2 separate regions of the Homo sapiens genome follow, and region 1 is linked to region 2. Evidence: promoter capture Hi-C in human tissues and cell types (Jung and others, 2019). All regions are on one chromosome and are shown on one strand. Each heading gives the region's core, a stretch centred on a gene start or on the middle of the fragment in contact. The rest is flanking DNA. Distances are from core to core; before and after follow the strand shown.

Region 1 (2,973 bases), core at 218-2,717, 590 kb before region 2:
AAGCCGGTTGAAAATTTTAAAGACGTTCCTTCTTTAACTTAAATTTTTTTTTTTCTGGTACCAGCTAGAGTTTGCAAAGGAGGTGAACTGACAATAACTATTAGGTTTAGAAACAAGGAGGTTTTTTATTTGCTATTTTAGATCGTATGGTTCAGTGGAGAGGTGAGGATAGAAACTGGCTGATCATTCATTCATCATTCATTCCTTCATCTAACAAAAGAGGAACAGATAGAGAGGAGAAGTAATTTTTAACGACTGCTTACATATCAGACAGTGCCTGAGGAATACAGAAGACAGTTTCTAAAAGAGTTCACAGTATGGTATGTTAGAGAAGAAAAACTATTGCTAATACAATGGGGTAAGTGCTCATGGAGCTATGTAAGCTGTGTAGCATGCTGTATGAGAAATAGGAGGTGTACAAAATTCAGCACAGGAGTAGGAAGGGACTAAAATATTTCCTTTCTAGCTAATTCTTGAACGTTTGGTAGCCATTTCATTCATTCAGTATTCATTCCTTAAATGTCTATTAAGCGCTTACCAGTGTGGCAGCTACTGTTGTAGGTGCTTTGGATCCATCAGTGAATGAATGAAACAAAGATCTTAGCTTTTGTGGAGCGTACATTCTCGTAGAGAATAATAAGTAAACATAATAAATCATAAAATATGTTAGAGGGTAAGTGCTATACACAGGAAAAAGTAGAGCGAAGTAAAGGGGAAGGACACATGCGTTCTTTTTTGGCTGTGTTAAATTTTAAAATAAGGTGTAGATTATACTGAAAACGTTGAACATTCATTTTGTTATGAAAAATTTCAAGCCTACACAAAAGCAGTAAGAACTGCATGATGAATCTCCACATGCTCATCACTCAGATACACCAGTTTCGAAAATTTTGCCACACTTCCTCCATGTATTCTTTTTTCTTTTTCCTCTTTTCTTTACCAAAGATTTTAAAGCCAATCCCTGGCATGACGTCATTTTCCTCTGCAGACTTTAATATGCGTCTCTAAAATATATGGACATTTTCTTGCATAGCGACAATGGCATTATCACAACAACTAAACCTAATACTAACACAAAAGAGGCATTTGAGCCAAGACTGGAAAGAAGTGAAGTCTTCCCCTAGCAGCTTGTGCAAAGGGCTTAAGGATCAGGAGCATGCTTAGCATATTTGAGGAGCAGCAAGGAGTCCATAGTGGCTAAAGCATGGAGACCCAGGGAAGAGCGATGAGATGAGGCCTTTGCAGGCTGCCGAGAGGACTTGGGCTCTAGTTGGAGTCGAATGGGGAGCCATGACAGGGTTTTCAGCAGAGGACTGACAAGGACAACTTTATGTTTACAAGGGTCACTTGAAGTGCTCCATTAAGAAAACACTGTAGTGGAGCAAGATAAAGCAGAGCTCAGTTAGAAGGTTGTTATGGATTAAAAGGTATATTTTTGTTTAGTGGTTCATTCCAGGTGGTGGCCGTGGAGATGGCAAGAAGTGCTTGGATTTTGGGTATGTTTTGAAGCTAGAGCTAACTGGATTTCCTGACTGCGGCTTGAGAGCGAAAGGAAGGCATTAAGAAGACTCATAGGTTTGTGGCCTGAGTAACAGGAAGGATGGAGCAGGTTTGGGGGCACCATCAGGAGTAGAGATGACATCTTGCCATGTTGCCCAGGCTGGTCTCGAACCCCTGGGCCAAAGTGACCCTCCTGCCTTGGCCTCCCAAAGTGCTGGGATTACAGGTATGAGTCATCACGCTTGGTCAGGAGTTGAGTTTTGAGCATGTAGAGTTTGAAATGTTTGTTGGACATGAAAGTGAGATGACTAGGTGGATAGTTAAAGCTGGAAGTAGGGAGAGAGGCAGCAGAAAGCATTCATCTCTGTATTCCCTGGATTCCCAAGAGCCTGTCCCCAGGGTACTTGGAAGTACTGACTGATTTATTTAGAGACATTCACAGAGTCTGACAAGAAAATCACTGAAGTGGTTTGGTAACCTGGAAGGCTCTGATATCCCTTCCTTCCTTTTCTATCCTGAACTCAGTAAAATTTGGGTAAAAAAAAAAAAAAAAGCTATGTTTTTCTGACATTTTCTGAACCTGAACTACTTAGGAAACTTGTTCAACAGTGTCATGTTTTTCTTCCTAACTGTAGCACCACTAGAGAGCGAGCTTCATCGTAGGTAACCAGGTGGTGGTTATTCTGGGGGTGGATGCCGTGGAAAGGATGTTGTCAACACAGATTGCTTTCCACAGCTGCAGTCAGCAATGCAGACTGATTGTGATGGTATTTATTTCTCCTTTTAAAAGGGAGCATTTCTAATCCCCATTTTGGATCATTTGGAATTCTGATTATATTTCCCGGAGTTATGTGGAAGATTGACACACAACCTGAGGATGTGAAATCGTAGTTTCAGCTGTTATGGTAGCTCGTGTCTGTGTGACTGATTTTAAATAACTAGGTGTTCAGAGATAGGGATCCTCCTATGCCTGCATGGTTGAGTGAGCCTGAATGCAGTCTGTGGATTCCCTGATTCACAGGGAAAGGTTGGTAACACAGAAGGGGTCATTGTCTCATAAGGCTGTAGTGATCTTTTGCATACATCGGCTCTCACTCCTCTTTGAAAAAAATGAGGGTGAACAGGAGAGCACTGAATCTCTTTCTGCCTCTTTTCTACAGGAGATGCATCGAAGGTTTGAGAATGCTCCTGATTCTGCCAAAACAAAAGCTCTGCAAACTGTTATTGAGATGAAGGTAAGTGAGAATCTAGTAAAGAATCTTATGAATTACCTTATACTTTTAAGTGATCAAAAACTTCCATGTGTGAGTGTTAGGAAATGGCATGTAATAGTATTTCACTTATTTGGAGATTAAGAGTGAGAATCAATGAAAATGACATCTTAAAAGAATTTCAGTTTTATTTCCTTTTACTTGTAGACCATAATTCAAATTGGACCAAAAAGAGTTGAACAGAATTTCTTTAAATCAGCTA
Region 2 (3,342 bases), core at 781-3,280:
GATCAAGGTAACCGAGAACAAGATGTGAAACTTTAGGGAAATGGTAAGTCTGTCTTTCATCTGGTTCAGCACACGGTGAACTGTTCCAGAGGTAGCTTCTTAAAGCCCTTCGTTTTGTCAAACCAGAATCTTTTTTTTTTTTTTTTTTGAGACAGAGTCTTGCTCTGTCACACAGGCTGGAGTGCAGTGGCACGGTCTCAGCTCACTGCAACCTCTGCCTCTCAGGTTCAAGTGATTCTCCTGCCTCAGCCTCCAGAGTACCTGGGATTACAGGCACGCGCGACCATGCTTGGCTAATTTTTTGTATTTTTGTAGAGACGGGGTTTCGCCATGTTGGCCAGGCTGGTTTTGAACTCCTGACCTCAAGTGATCTGCCCATCTCGGCCTCCCAAAGTGCTAGGATTACAGGTGTGAGCCACCACGCTTGGCCTGGAAACCAGTCTTTAAGAGAAAGGGATGCAGGAAAGATTGGAGATCTTTGAAGAATCTCTTTTTAAGAAAATTATCTTTTTCGCTCTAGTTCTGTCACCTTTAGTAGACTCTTTATTAAGCCTAAGAATCTTATACTTCTTATCTCTGTTCTATGTGAGTTGGTATAACGGGTCAAATTCACAATCCAGAAATGCCTGTATTGTTTCTGATGTGCTGAGGAGGTGTACAATTGTCTTCCTTGATTTCAACCTCAAAAGCTTTACATCTTTACCTGGGAACATAGAAGTCATTATTATTATGTCTTTCACAAATTATGTAAACTTAAAAAAATTATATTTTCAATGTAAACCACTCCTTGGAGGAAATTAGTTCCTTTAACATTTATTTCCTAATTTTAATTTCTACTAGTTTTATCTCTTTCAAGCTTAAATGAGTGGGCCTTAGTTCTGTATTATTGCCATCTTAATCATGTTCTTTGTGATTTTAGTAGCTTTACTTTTTAAAACTTACATTTCCATAATGAAGACTTCTGTATTTTTGTTTTTTTCGTCATATATCCGACTCCAGCTCCCTCAAGACCTGTCAGCTTTTCCCTGCACCCTTTGTTATCTCTTGCTGTGGTCCAAAGGTAAGGACAGTAAGCCGTGGGCACAGACTTTCCCTAAATCGTATGGATTTCCTTTAGTCAATAACAAGAATTTTGATAGTTAAGGCATTTACGCCTTAAGAATGTGATAAATTCCCCCTCCTACTGAATGTAAAGAACTATTTTTCTACGCAGACTAACTCTTATATTCACTTTTCTTATAGAATAAGTACGTAACCAAATCTGTTCTTGGCTTCTAAGAAGTTAGAACTCAACGTAAAGATGACTTGTGGAAAATTACTTACTCATTCTGGGTAAATGGACGCAGGTATTTAGTGCTTAAGTAGGTTCTGATATACCATTACATTAACATCATTTTAAAAATCGCTCTGAATTATATGTATTTTAAGAGTGACTGGGTTTTAAAAAAAATAGAAGTGGTAGAGCATAAATCATAATCTTTAATAAGGTAATAAAAGGCAAACACTATTGCTCTGGGCAAAACTGGGCTAATGCTTTTGGATTTCTTTCCGCAGTCTTCACAGACGACGCTCAGCATCCTATCAGCCCTTGGCAGAGACACACGATCCAGCCTAAATCCTCAAATTCTGGCTCTTGCCCAAAGTGTGTAGCCAGTATCCATAGAGACTGCGAAAAGCATCCGCGAGCCGGGGCGGCCCCCTCCTCCTCAGCTCCAAATTGCTTCCTTTTTCGGTGGGAGAAAAAACTCCGAGGAGTTGTGTGAGCGCCTAAGGAGCGCACGCTCCTCCGGCCCTCAACACCCAGTATAGTTTTCGCTAAGTTCCTGGCCGAACCACAGCTCCCACGATGCACCCAGGTTTTAGAGCGGTCAGAGGGGCGGCTTCCGGTTTAGGACAGCGCGGCTGCGCACGGCGTGTGGTCTTATTGGCTCGAACCGCCTCGTGCGATGCGCGTCACGGCGACGTGCGGTCGTGGGGGCGGGGAGACGCGGCGGCGGCGGTCGCTGTCGCGGCGGCGAGAGCGCGATTCCAGAAGCGGCATCGCGGCGGCGGCAGCGGCGGCGGCTACACCGGGCTTGGCCCCCTCCCTCCTCCGTTCCCCCCTCCTCCCCCCTCCCCTCAGCGGTGGCTCCCAAGAAGTCCGAGACACGCGGTGAGGCGGCGACGGGCTCCGGGTGAGGGTCTCTGGAGTGTGGGCGCCGTTTCCTGGGCGCAGAGGGAGAGCTTGGGGTCGGGGGGAGGTGAGAGCTGAGGGGCGAATGTCCCTGGCGCGGGCGGGAGAGCGCGCTCTCGGCCCGGCCCGCAACTTGATTCCTAACTCTGACCTGCCGCCCGGCGCGCCTTGGCCTGAGGGTCGGCCGTGTGGGGACCTGGAGCCGCCCTCCTTGCGACCGCTGTCGGAGGAGTCCGGCGCCCGCTGTTCCCCTCGCCTCGCCTTTCGCGGCGGAGGGTCGGAGCCTGCTGCCCTCTGCTCACCTTCGGGTGCAGTTGCTCCAGCTCCCTGCCCGCGGAGAGGATCTGCCCGCCCCTCTTCGTCTCTTGTCTGTTTTTATCACTTCTAGGAATTTGTTTGGTGGAGGCTTGGGATGGGCTCTCTCAGCGCTACTTTCACAGTGACTGGGGTGGGGAAGAGTTCCCTCACCTTTTTCAGGTGGCGCGTCAGGCAGCCTGCTTGGTACCTGGAGTCCTGTTTTCCCAAGCCCCCGTCCGTCAGTGTTCGCTTCTTCTAAAATTACCGATGACAGGGTTATAAATCAGTTTTTAGGGGGCTCGGAGAGAGTTTGGGTTGGAAACTGTTAGCTCTTTTTTCCTCCTGGCTTTTGATCTTGATTTAAGCGTTTGCCTCTGAAATTTTGACAACTTCATAAGATGGTCCAAAAGTGAATTTTGGTAGAAAGATTTAAATGCACAGTTGGGATTTTATGGGGGTACGGTGACTTCATTGCAGGTTGTTGACTTTTTTTTTAAAATAAGATGTTCTTTTAATTTTTTGACTCTGGGTTTCTGAGCCTTGGTTATTGTCCCCCATTTCTGTTCCAAAAGCAGACTTTTTTTTTTTTTATCACCCCTTCCCCTCACCCAGAGAATCCCTTTAAACGCCAAGAAAGCTGTCATAACATTTAGCATTATTTGATCACAGAACTTTTCCAAATGAAATGCTAAAAATTCCTTCAGAAAAAAGCATCCATCTACCCATAGCATTATTTTTTGGGGGGAGGCTATACGTCTTGTCAGTTCTGAAAGTTTGAAGTGACCTCTTATCAAAGGCCACCCTTATGTCTCCTTAAACGACTCTTAGGTAATTCCTAGATGTTTTCATCCGTTCTGATAAATTTGTTGTCA

The links. Contacts are between HindIII fragments. The study calls those that stand out against the background at their distance.
Region 1: a fragment that was not itself captured here is called in contact with the fragment with the promoter of ADIPOR2 in region 2 in 1 of the 25 tissues and cell types used here (adrenal gland).

Annotation. Positions count from the first base shown.
Region 1 is chr12:1,102,090-1,105,062 of GRCh38, forward strand. ERC1 (ELKS/RAB6-interacting/CAST family member 1) reads left to right here. Exons shown (of 19, transcript NM_178040.4): 4 at 2,661-2,735. Among named protein-coding and RNA genes, the nearest start is that of ERC1, 110 kb to the left of the region's middle. The HindIII fragment of the contact is 5,768 bases long and covers 1-2,973 here.
Region 2 is chr12:1,689,040-1,692,381 of GRCh38, forward strand. ADIPOR2 (adiponectin receptor 2) reads left to right here and starts at 2,031. Exons shown (of 8, transcript NM_024551.3): 1 at 2,031-2,152. RefSeq lists enhancers at 1,534-1,693, 1,714-1,763, 1,847-2,425 and silencers at 1,924-2,223, 2,244-2,333. The HindIII fragment of the contact is 10,259 bases long and covers 1-3,208 here.